Regions from separate parts of the Homo sapiens genome. Here regions 1 and 2 are each linked to region 3. Evidence: promoter capture Hi-C in 16 types of primary human blood cells and fetal thymus (Javierre and others, 2016). All regions are on one chromosome and are shown on one strand. The core of a region is centred on a gene start or on the middle of the fragment in contact, and the rest is flanking DNA. Distances in the headings are between cores, read along the strand shown.

Region 1 (4,100 bases), core at 1,295-3,794, 910 kb after region 3:
GGGCACTTGGGGCTACTAAAAAAAGAAAAAGAAAAGAAAAAGAGAACTTCAGGTCTTCAAATCCAATTAAGAAGACAGAACACATACATAGTGAAAATGACTTCGTGACATTCCCTCCCCCCCTTTTTTAACATCAGGACCTTTTCTTAAAGAGTATGTTTTATAAACAGTGTAAACTGAGTCGCTGTTGCTGAAAGGCAGCAAAAAAAGAGCGGCGGGGCCGGGGCGGGGTGGGGGGGTGACAGAGGGGTAATCCCGATGGCCTCCCTGTAAGTGGTAAGGTGGGAATTTCTTGGCCACAAAGAATCCGAATTGAGGTGAAGGAGAAGACCCAGACCTCTTTCCAGTAAGGATTTGTAAGACAACATCTCTACCTAAGAAAGACGAACTCCAAATGCAAAACGTTATTCTTGCTAGACGGGAATGATTATGTAGTTACAATAAAACAACCTGACATCGTGGGAAGGCAGGAGGAATCTCCGCGAACCCTGGGGCAAGCTCTTCGTACCCCGTTGCCTACTGTTGGCTTTTCGGCGAGCCTAGTGAGCTGTACCTGGCCCCACGGTCCGGGAGAGTAGCATTTCTCCGGGTCGCATCCTGCCAGCCTCCTGCCCTGGATGACCACAGAACAGAAACCCTCGAACCCAACCCCAGCTCAGAACTTCTAGAAGAGCCACCGCTGCCATATAGGCCCCCCATGCGACTCTGCCCAGAATCTGGCGACTTTAAGAGGAAAAGGAGCCCCCAGCCTCAGCTCTTCAACGAATGAGATAGTACAGCCCCCCCAAAAGGCAGACAGGCTCCAAGACAGCCCTGCAGAAAACTAATGACCATTCCCCCGTCTCGTGTGCGCCCCGCTCTTCCAGGTCACTCCTTGAGCCCACAGCTCTCTCCCAAAACCCCTGAAGCCCGTTTTGGCCCCCGACTAGATTTAGGTCAGAAAACAGACACTAACGGCTCTCCTTTGCCTCAGTGAAATTACTAAGTGGAATTTATTGGGCAAGTCCACGCAGGGCGGTGGGGAGAGCCGGTGTCCCGGGCCCTGGCCCCCGACAGCTTTAGAAGCCGGGCACTGGCCAGGGCTCCGGGCGAGGGCTGCCCATAGCCCGGACTCGCCAGCCCCACCCCGGGAGCCTTGGCCGGTCCACAGGGCTGCCGGACTCGCGTGGCCGCGTGGACTCCGTTCCCCAGCCGGCCCTTTGCTTTCACACGATCCGCGGTGACTGCACCAGCTCGAGCGCCTTTAAAGGGCCACAGACGCCAGCCGCTGCTATAAAAATGTGCCCGGCGGCAAAGCTGCAGAAGGGGCACCGCTGAGCTGCCGAGAGGAAGCTCGCTCTGCCCGGCTGCCCTCTTGTAGTCCGCCGGCGAGGGGCAGTTCTCGGTGAGGAGGAAGAGAGCAGCGGACGGCACAGCACCCGCGCGGGCCCTCCGTGAGTATCCAGTTCAGATTTTGCCACCAACTCGCCCACGAGCCAGGACATGTGCTAATAATGCCCTAAGCCGGTTATAAAGACGTGGAAATTGAGGGGAGAAAAAAAAAGGGAAAAAAAGGGTCTGTCCTTCCTGGGATTCCTAGCCGAGGCCAGTCTGCTGCCGTGTGCGTGTGCGTCAGGGCTCTCCGGGCGGCAATGGGGGCTTGAGAGCCGGGTCCCCAGCGCCGGGAAGGGAGCGCGGTGGCCGCCACCGCCACCGCCCCGGAGTCCGGCGCCGAAGCTGCGGGCGGGCGGGCGGGCACCAGCTCGGTCAGGGGCTGCTTGGCGCGGCACTGTGCGGTGCAGCGGCGGCGCGGCGCGGTGCGGGCTTTTCCCAGGCGCCCCGGGGTCGGGTGGCCAACGGCGCGGCCGCGGGCGCTGAGCGCGACCGGTTCGCGGTAGCGGTGGCGGCGGCGTGCGTGCCAGGGGCTGGGGGCTCCGCCGCCTCTCTTGCGGCTCACCGAGCTCCGCGCTTCCCTCTCTCCAGGGCAGGCGGCTTCTCAGAGGTAAGCCGGGCCGCCGGGCTGGGCGCCGGGCTGGGCGGCGGGGCCGAGGACTCCCGTGGAGCGGGTATGGGGAGTGGGCGGCCGCCAGGCGGGCCGGAGGGTTCTGGGGAGACTTGCTTTCTGTTGGAAAGCTGCTCTGCTGGGGGCGAGGGGCCGCCCGCCCGCCCGCCCGCCAGCGCTCGGGTTCGCTTGCCAGCGCGCCCCCCTGCCGGCCAGCGGGGCCGGGTGCCCGCTTCTCCCGGGGAGACGGCAGCACCTTTTCTCCCTGCGCCCGCGCTTTCTCCAGCTTGGCTTCCACCGACTTTGCTAATCTCCCGGACCGCATCTGGACGCTCTGGCTCCGGAGCTGCACAAAGCTCAGATTTACTTCGGGGAATTGAGGCAAGAGGGGGCTTTTCGGGCCGAGTTCAGCGGAATTGCGGGATGGAAGTTAGCGAATTTGGGCAACTTGCCTCTACTGCCCAGTCGACCTCAGCCCTCCCCTCCCCCGACACACGCCCACACACACACACCCACGCGCACACCCCTCTCCCTATAAACGCGGGCTGGCGAGCCGCGCGCCGAGTCCCTGCTTCGCAGAGCACCGGACTTGGAGTCAGAGAGACCTGGCTGCGAATCCCGGCTCCGCCACTTTCTAGCGCTGTGACCTTGGGCAAGTTACCGCACCTCTCCGAGCCTCTCTCACTCTTCTCCTAGCGGGGTTTTAGCACTGACCGCAGGCGGCTTGGCTAGGGGGTAGGCTCAGCCTGCTGCCGCGTCGGATGCTCAGCGGGCGCTCAGTAAGTGTTGATCAGGCGCGAGAGTGGCAGCAGCCGGCGCCGGAGTGCGGACTCGCCGCGGAGGCCGACACCCCGTGCCCCTTCCTGCCTGTCCATCCTGTCTCTAAGATCAGTTCCTGATACAGCACTTGCGGGAACGGACGCTCAGGGCCCCGGTGGCCTGGGTGCACGCGCCCGCCGTGCAAGGGATGCTCCCGGCCGCCCCCGGTTCCGCGGCTCCATCTGGGATGCGGCGAGGAGGGCAGCCGAGCTGTCCGCAAACAACGGGCCTTTAGTTTTCAGGTGGCGAAACTGACTGGTCTGGTTAGAGCGCGTCCAAGCCAAGCCGCAGTGCTGTTTGGATTTTTAAATTTCTCCTTCTGAGTGAGAAAATAGCAATCGAGATGGAACCATCCGGTTGGTGCCATTTTAACTTTTGGTCCCCCAACAGGTTAAAGATGAGGCCCCCACCTGCCTCTCCCTTCTCTTTTCCCTCTCCCCTTCCCACCCCTGTCTAGGCGGGAGGGGGCTGCTCGCCCAAGGGAAGGCCTGAAGCGAAGAGCGGGCAGCGGGACTGGGAACTGGTGGCCGGGGGGCCGCCAGGCATCAGCCGGCGAGAAGGCACTTGTTGCTCTAGGTTTCCCAGCCGCCTGTCGCAGCCGTTTCGCAGTGGTCAGCTCGCGGCTTGGAGAGCGGGCTGGGACGTTTCCGCGTTGCCAAGTTTTGCCCACGAACGGGCTAGAGGGTGGTGGAGGAGGGCAGAAAGCCGGGGAAGCAGAGCCAGGGATGCCGATGGAAATGCGATTGCTTCTTCAGACGCATTCAACAACACTTACTGAGCGCCTATTGAGCGCAGACCCAGGCTGGGGTCAGGGTGGGTGGTGGGTCAGTAATGGAAGGCAGAAGATCTGAATGGACACAGGGCCTCTTCTGGGGGAGCTCCCAGATTGAAGAGGGAGGCGCGGTAAAATGGTCTTCCCCCACGAACTGATATCAGAATAGAGAGAGTTTTTTTGCTCGTTCTCTCTTTTGATTTTTCTAATGTTTCTCTTTTGGTTTTGCTGTTGTTGCTGCTGCTCCTGTTGTTTTTTCTTCGTTTTGTACATTCGGGTACCAAGCGGCAAAAAGGAGAGGGAAGGCTGGATAGGAACAGGAAAAGATGGACAGGGCCCCCAGACATTTTTCTTAGGACAGGAAAATTGTCTGATACTGATTGTGCTAGGGCTCTTGAAGACGACATGTGTTAGACTTCTTGTCTGGTGATCACTTGCTTTTGAAATATTTTTCTACGGTTGCCTCAGAGAAGGAGCAGGGCTTCAATCAAGCAATGATGCGGGACCCAACAGCTGATATTTTTTCCT
Region 2 (4,098 bases), core at 80-2,579, 760 kb before region 3:
CACCCAGAAATACTATAAACTGTTGAAAATCAAAGACAAAGGAAAAAATTTGAAAGCAGCTATTAAAAAAACAGCACATTACATCTGAGGAAGCAATGATTCAAACGACGGCAAATTTTTTATCAGAAACGATGAAGGACAGTAGTAGAAAAATAACTTTAAAGAGCAACAAGAAAAAAATCCCATCAATTAACAATTCTATATCCAGTGATTGAAAATGTCTTTCAGGAATGAAGGTGAAATGAACACATTCCTAGATGAAGGGAAATTAAGACAATTCACCTCAAGCAGAGTGCTGATTAAATGATAAAGGGAGTTCTTTAGTCTGAAGGGAAATGATACCCAGGGAAAGCTTAGATCTTTAAAAATGAGAGAACAAAGAACTGGTTTAAAAAAAAAAAAAAGAAGTGGTAAATTACTGAGTAAATATAAAAGACTATTTTTCTCCTCTTAAGTTCTTTAAAATATGTATGACTCCTGAAAGCAGAAACACAATGCAAATGTAAAACACATGGCAACTACTTAAAGAATCAGTGAGGGAGTATAAAGAGCTTTATATGGATGTAAGGCTTCTATGTTTTACCTGAAGTGGTAAAACACTGAATCTACATAAACTGTTAGATATGTATTTATGAGACAATTCGAATGTATAAAAGATAATTAAGACCGGGCACGGTGGCTCATGCCTATAATCCCAGCACTTTGGGAGGCCGAGGCAGGCAGATTACCTGAGGTCAGGAGTTCGAGACTACCCTGGCCAACATAGCAAAACCCTGCCTCTACTGAAAATACAAAAATTAGCTGGGCGTGATGGCATGCACCTGTAGTTAGTCTCAGCTACTCATGAGCCTGAGGCAGAAGAAGTGCTTGAACCCAGGAGGCGGGGGTTGCAGTGAGCTGAGATTGTGCCATTTGCACTCCAGCCTGAGCAACAGAGCGAGACTCTGTCTCAAAATAAATAAATAAATAAAGATAATTAAAATGGAATATTAAAGCCTGGGCGCGGTGGCTCACGCCTGTAATCCCAGCACTTTGGGAGGCCAAGGCAGGTGGATCACCTGAGGTCAGGAGTTCAAAACAAGCCTGACCAACATGGTGAAACCCCGTCTCTACTGAACATAAAAATAATGAGCCAGGCATAGTGGCGGGCACCTGTAACCCCAGCTACTTGGGAGTCTGAGGCAGGAGAATCGCTTGAACCCGGGAGGCGGAGGTTGCAGTGAGCTGGGATCACACCACTGCATTCCAGCCTGGGCGACAAGAGCGAAACTCCATCTCAAAAAAAAATAAATAAATAAAATAAAATACTAAAAAATGTTCAAATGATACAGAAGAAAAAATAAGAAACAGAAATAAACAAAAATAACAAAGACAACAAATCTCAAATATATAGGGCACTAGAAACAACATCACTACCTCACTTAGAAAAGGCTTGACAAAAGCAAAGTTATGATTTTCTTGACCCTATCAGAGAACTGAAGTTACAGGAAAAAAAAAAATACAGAAATCTAAAAAAATGGTAGGTGCCTGCAGGGGAAAACAGAATCTGAGCATTTGATTACTGGGACAAATGCCATGAAAATCAATATAAAAGCAGGTAGAAAGATTTAACTAGAAATTACAATAAATTGCTAAAGGCCAAGTGTGGGCTGGCCTGAGAATAGGAATCCCCTCAGGTTTCAAATATGGGGGTGGGGTTGCAGCCACCTGCAGCTGTTATCAATAGGAAGCCACAGGAAAGATCAGAGATCACAGAGAAAGACCCCTTTGGTACTATCTGGGGGAAAGGAGTAGCAGCTATGGCTGAAAATCTGCCCCAATCTACCTTTCTTAAAAAAAAAAAAAGTTTCGCTCTTGTTGCCCAGGCTGGAGTGCAATGGCGCGATCTCGGCTCACCGCAACCTCCACCTCCCGGGTTCAAGTGACTCTCCTGCCTCAGCCTTCTGAGTAGCTGGGATTACAGGCATGCACCACCACACCCAGCTAATTTTGTATTTTAAGTAGAGACAGGGTTTCTCCATGTTGGTCAGGCTGGTCTCAAACTCCTGACCTCAGGTGATCCGCCCGCCTCGGCCTCCCAAAGTGATGGGATTACAGGCGTGAACCACCACGCCCCACCAAAAAAAGTTCTTCATTTACAGAAAAGATCATGAAGCAGTGGAAGGGAATATAAAGCAGACCAAAATTCCCCAGAGGCCCGTCTCCTATCTCGCCTAAGAAGCAAAAACCTTAGAGCAATTTGCAGGGACACCCTGGAGTGGAAGCAACAGGGGCTGGGTAAGGAGGTAAGGAACACATAAAGCTTTAGCCATAGGGGAGGAATGGGAATAAATACTAGGCATTGACTGGAAAAGAAAGACTTATGACAGCCACACCCACAAGACCCAGATTCACAGTGCCTACTTAAGACTGAGTTTAAATTAGAACATTAGAGAACATGCCTCTTTTTCGCCCCAACCACAGACTAAACATCAAATAAAATTAAAGTAATGCACAGGGGAAAGCTGAAAACCACAGGCCTTCTCTAGAGAAGAGTGAAAAGGTGAAAACCCACGCCAAACAAGGACACAAAAACAAGGTATCATTATAGGGTTTGAAGTTTCTGATACACAGAGAGTAACCATGGTAACAACAAAACTTCAATCCCAGACCAACTCCTGACTAATTTCACAAAAACCTCCACGCTAATAGCCTAGATGAAGGAAAGGTGTGCTTATCGCAAAGAAAATACATATATATACCTCAGTATCTACTACTTTATATGTTTGACTCTCAACATTATAATGTATACAAAAACAAAGAAAAAAATACCATCTGAAAAGAATGCAATCTTGAAAACCAGACTTAAATATGAGATGCCAAAACTAACAGAAAATGAAAAGTAACTGTAATACCTTGTGTCCTTCTTACTCCCATTTGTTAGTTCTAGGTTTCTGGAGATGCTCTAAAAACGTCTATGTAGACAATCTTATAATCTACAAATAAAGATTTATTTTTTCCCTTCCAGTCTATATTTCCTTTTCTTGTATTAGGAGTGGTGAGAGAGGACATCTTTGCATTGTTCCCGATCTGAGCAGTATGTCCAGTCTCTCACCATTAATAAGTGGAGTCTGTAAGACTAAATGCAAAAGAAGCTATACATAAGCATTATACTCCAGTTGATAGAGTTGTTTCCAGTAAGGGTAAAAATCAACAATTCTGAAACAGTTATACCTGTATAATGGGATAGTACAATTATGTAAATGAATGGTAAATGTTAGGAGACAGGCTCTTTCCTATTGGAGTGAGAGAGTGAGGACAGACAAACAAGGAGATATGACTAGAATTAACCATGTGGTAATGGATTAGTTAGAAATACCAGTATGAACTCACATTTAACTTAAAAAAATCGATAGTTACATATAAAAATGTGTATAAATATGTAGCTATACATGGGTTAGTATACATATCTATCTATACTTCCTCTGAGAAGAGTTGGCTGTAGAATACAAACCTATAGGCTGGGTGCGGTGGCTCACACCTGTAATCCCAGCACTTTGGAAGGCTGAGGTGGGTGGATCACCTGAGGTCAGCAGTTCAAGACCAGCCTGGCCAACGTGATGAAATCCCATCTCTACTAAAAATACAAAAAAATTAGCCAGGCGTGGTGGTGGGCGCCTGTAATACTTAGCTACTCAGAAGGCAGGAGAATTGCTTGAACCCAGAAGACAGAGGTTGCAGTGAGCCAATATCCACCACTGCACTCCAGCCTGGGCAACAAGAGCAAAAACTCCATCTAAAAAAAAAAAAAAAAACAAAAAACCTATATAATAAATTGTTCTGTTTTCATACTAGCAATGAATGATCCAAAAATGAAATTAAGAAATCAATTCCATACAAAATAGCACCAAAAAGACTAAATCTTTAGGAATAATTCAACAAAACACCTGCAAGATTTGTATAAAGAAAGCTACACAATGTTGTTGAAGAAAATTTTAAAAGACCAAAATAAATGGGGAGATATTTCATGTTTAAGATGCGTTATTGGCTGGGCGCAGTGGCTCACGTCTGTAATCCCAGCACTTTGGGAGGCCGAGGCGGGTGGATCATGAGGTCAGG
Region 3 (3,917 bases), core at 956-3,455:
TGTAAATGTGTGGGTTTATTTCTGGGTTCTCTATTCTGTTCCATTGGTTTTTTGCGTCTGTATTTATGACAGTACCATGCAGCTTTGTAGTACATTTTGTCATCAGGCAGTGTGATGCCTCCAGCTTTGTCCTTTTTGCTCAGGATCATTTTGGCTATTTGGGATCTTTTGTAGTTTCATAAAAGTTTTAGGATATTGTTTTCTGTTTCTGTGAAGAATGTCATTGGTATTTTGATAGAGATTGCATTGAATATGTAGATTTCTTTGGGTAGTATAAACATTTTAACAATATTGATTCTTCTAATCCATAAGCATAGGATATCTTTCCATTTTGGGGTTCTCTTCATCTCTTTCATTAGTGTTTTTATAGTTTTTATTGCGTAGATCTTTCACTTCTTTGGTTAAATTTATTCCTAGATGTATTATTTTCTTGTAGCTATTGTAAATGGGATTGTTTTCTTGATTTTTTCAAATTGTCTGCTGCTGGTGTACAGAAATGCTACTAATTTATGTGTGTTGATTTTGCTTCATGCAAACTTACTTAATTTGTTAGTTCTAACAGTTTTTTTGTGGAGTCTTTAGGTTTTTCTAAATATAAGATCATGTCTTCTTTGAACAAGGATATAAATTAGCAACTTCCTTTCCAATATGTATGTCCTTTATTTTTTTCTCTTGCAAAATTGCTCTGGGTAGGACTTCCAGTACTATATTGAATATGGTCTTTAAAATATTTTTCTCTACACTTTATATTATGATAAAATATACATAACATAATATTTACCATTTTACCTATTTTTAAATCTACATTTCAGGAGCATTAAGTACAATCACACTGCTGTGAACCATCATCACCATACATCTCCAGAATATTTTCTTTTTCTTGAACTGAAACTCCATACACATTGAACAATAACTTCCTTTCCTCCCTACCCCAAGCCTCTGAAAACCATGTTTCTACTTTCTGTCTCTGTGAATTTGACTGCTCTAGATACCTAATTAAAGTAGAATCATACAATATTTGTTCTTTTGTATCTGGTATTTTCACTTAAAGGAAAAATTTATCTATAAACTGACAGAATTTAGAAATAAATACAACAATATGTAAACAGTTTTAATATCTGTGATAGTAACAAATTCTTTAAATCTGGAAAATAATAGTCACTTAAAATTTTAAAAAATTGTTCAATTAATAAATGATCCAAGTTAGAAATATGAACAAAATAAACCTCACCAATAATTACTATAGAGAGGAAATTTTAATTACTGCAAAGCTTTCCATCCTATAAATACATTATCAAATAGTTTAACCATTTCTTTAATGCTGAGATTTAGATTATTTCCAATTAACTCAAAAGCATCAAGCAAATGTTATGATTTCTAAGAATAAACATAACTTTCCATTTTGGCTTTTGTATATATGTATATTTCTAACGGCTGTTAAAGCCAGCATTAAGAAGGAGAAGCAGAAAGTCAGTATTGGGACTGGGGTTATTTATAAGCCAGGCAACTGGTTAATTGTGGTTAATTGTCTGGTATGTTTACTAGTCACGTAGTTGTATACACCATACTAGTTTTTCATCACAGGCCCTCATTCGCCCCCACTGCCATCGGACTTCCTCCTCCTCCCCTCACAGGAAATGTTTCGAGAATTTTTCAACCTAAAATCATATAGCTTGTGAAAAATACCGACAAACATAATATAGAATATTTAAATAACTGACACGCCACCTAAAGACCATCAGTGCTAATTCCTGGTGTTTTTAATCTTTGAAGCGTTTGTTTATCAGCTCTTCCACCATCCACCTCTCCCCTCCCCAGGTCCCCGATCTAAAATCAAAGAGATTGATTTAGGATGGGTGGGTGCCTTGTCTTCTCTCATTGTTCGACATTTTAGTTACGTTTTCTCTGAGCTCTCTGGAAAGCATAAAAGTATAATATCTGTTAAAAGTTGGATGAATGAACTAATGAACGCAATGGGATTCCAGAAAACTCTGCGGGAGATGGGCTAGAGGACGAGGAGGAGGTGGATGAATCAGCCATGTTAGAGAGCCTGGGAAGGTGAGCAGAGTTGAAAACTTGATAGATCTAATAATTTACTGGCTCTGGGTTTGTCAGTCACTACATTGCAGCAAATGAGATTAGAGCATAGTTGTGGGAGGGAAGGAGGTGACGCAGCAATCTATTTGCACCTAGAAATTTTAGGCAAGTGATAGCTGCGTAATCATACTGCGGCACCGTTTTTTTCTTGCAGCAGTAGCTGCTTGCGGAGGAGGTCTGCCCACTGCAGCTCTCTGCAGTCTCCGGCTCTCTCCTGCAGGATCGGTCAACGCAGCCGTCGCCGCCCTCTGCACCCAGCCCAGGTCGCCACTGCTTCAGTCCGGTTCTCAAAGCCTCAGCACCATCTTTTATCCCCGAGCAGCCTGGATCGTCGTTCCCTCAGTCCGGACGCCACTGCTAGGTCCGACCACCGCCGCTTCTGATATTTCGGTGAGTCTTTTCCTGTGGAGGTTTGGTCTCCCGATCTCTGTGGTAGCCACCTTAGGCGTGTACGGTCCTTTGAAAAATGGCCGAGTCAGAGAACCGCAAGGAGCTGTCAGAATCCAGTCAAGAAGAGGCTGGTAATCAGATAATGGTGGAAGGGCTCGGGGAACATCTGGAGCGCGGTGAAGATGCCGCTGCTGGGCTTGGAGACGATGGGAAGTGCGGTGAAGAAGCTGCCGCTGGGCTTGGGGAAGAAGGGGAAAACGGTGAAGATACTGCTGCTGGGTCCGGGGAAGATGGGAAAAAAGGTGGCGATACTGATGAGGACTCAGAGGCAGACCGTCCAAAAGGACTTATCGGTTATGTTTTAGATACAGACTTTGTTGAAAGTCTACCTGTGAAAGTTAAGTACCGTGTGTTAGCCCTTAAAAAGCTTCAAACTAGAGCGGCCAATTTAGAATCCAAATTCCTGAGGGAATTTCATGACATTGAAAGAAAGTTTGCTGAAATGTACCAACCCTTACTGGAAAAAAGACGTCAGATCATCAATGCAATCTATGAACCTACAGAAGAGGAATGTGAATATAAATCAGACTCTGAGGACTGTGATGATGAGGAAATGTGTCATGAAGAGATGTATGGTAATGAGGAGGGTATGGTACATGAATATGTGGATGAGGACGATGGTTATGAGGACTATTATTATGATTATGCTGTGGAAGAGGAGGAGGAGGAGGAGGAGGAGGACGACATTGAGGCTACTGGAGAAGAGAATAAAGAAGAGGAGGATCCTAAGGGAATTCCTGATTTTTGGCTAACTGTTTTAAAAAACGTTGATACACTCACTCCTTTGATTAAGAAATATGATGAGCCTATTCTGAAGCTCCTGACAGATATTAAAGTTAAGCTTTCAGATCCTGGCGAGCCCCTCAGTTTCACACTAGAATTTCACTTCAAACCCAATGAATATTTCAAAAATGAGTTGTTGACAAAGACCTATGTGCTGAAGTCAAAGCTAGCATATTATGATCCCCATCCCTATAGGGGAACTGCGATTGAGTATTCCACAGGCTGTGAGATAGATTGGAATGAAGGAAAGAATGTCACTTTGAAAACCATCAAGAAGAAACAGAAACATCGGATCTGGGGAACAATCCGAACTGTAACTGAAGATTTTCCCAAGGATTCATTTTTCAATTTTTTCTCTCCTCATGGAATCACCTCAAATGGAAGGGATGGAAATGATGATTTTTTACTTGGTCACAATTTACGTACTTACATAATTCCAAGATCAGTATTATTTTTCTCAGGTGATGCACTGGAATCTCAGCAGGAGGGGGTAGTTAGAGAAGTTAATGATGCAATTTATGACAAAATTATTTATGATAATTGGATGGCTGCAATTGAGGAAGTTAAAGCTTGTTGCAAAAACCTTG

Evidence for each region. The method cuts DNA at HindIII sites, captures the fragments that hold promoters and counts their contacts. A CHiCAGO score of 5 or more calls a contact.
Region 1: the fragment with the promoter of CITED1 here is called in contact with the fragment with the promoter of NAP1L2 in region 3 in 4 of 17 cell types (non-activated CD4 T cells, naive CD8 T cells, activated CD4 T cells and 1 more); the score reaches 7.8 in non-activated CD4 T cells.
Region 2: a fragment that was not itself captured here is called in contact with the fragment with the promoter of NAP1L2 in region 3 in 1 of 17 cell types (naive CD4 T cells); the score reaches 5.2 in naive CD4 T cells.

What each region holds. Positions count from the first base shown.
Region 1 is chrX:72,304,358-72,308,457 of GRCh38, reverse strand. CITED1 (Cbp/p300 interacting transactivator with Glu/Asp rich carboxy-terminal domain 1) reads left to right here and starts at 2,544. Exons shown (of 3, transcript NM_001144887.2): 1 at 2,544-2,633. LOC105373250 (a long non-coding RNA gene) reads right to left here and starts at 2,356. Exons shown (of 3, transcript XR_938441.2): 1 at 2,238-2,356; 2 at 1-15. RefSeq lists an enhancer at 1,489-1,538 and a silencer at 1,265-1,559. The HindIII fragment of the contact is 8,247 bases long and covers 1-4,100 here.
Region 2 is chrX:73,976,140-73,980,237 of GRCh38, reverse strand. The region is part of intron 2 of JPX (JPX transcript, XIST activator); the gene reads right to left. Among named protein-coding and RNA genes, the nearest start is that of JPX, 34 kb to the right of the region's middle. RefSeq lists an enhancer at 2,089-2,648. The HindIII fragment of the contact is 1,950 bases long and covers 355-2,304 here.
Region 3 is chrX:73,213,139-73,217,055 of GRCh38, reverse strand. NAP1L2 (nucleosome assembly protein 1 like 2) reads left to right here and starts at 2,205. Exons shown (of 1, transcript NM_021963.4): 1 at 2,205-3,917. The coding sequence starts at 2,564. The HindIII fragment of the contact is 1,643 bases long and covers 1,274-2,916 here.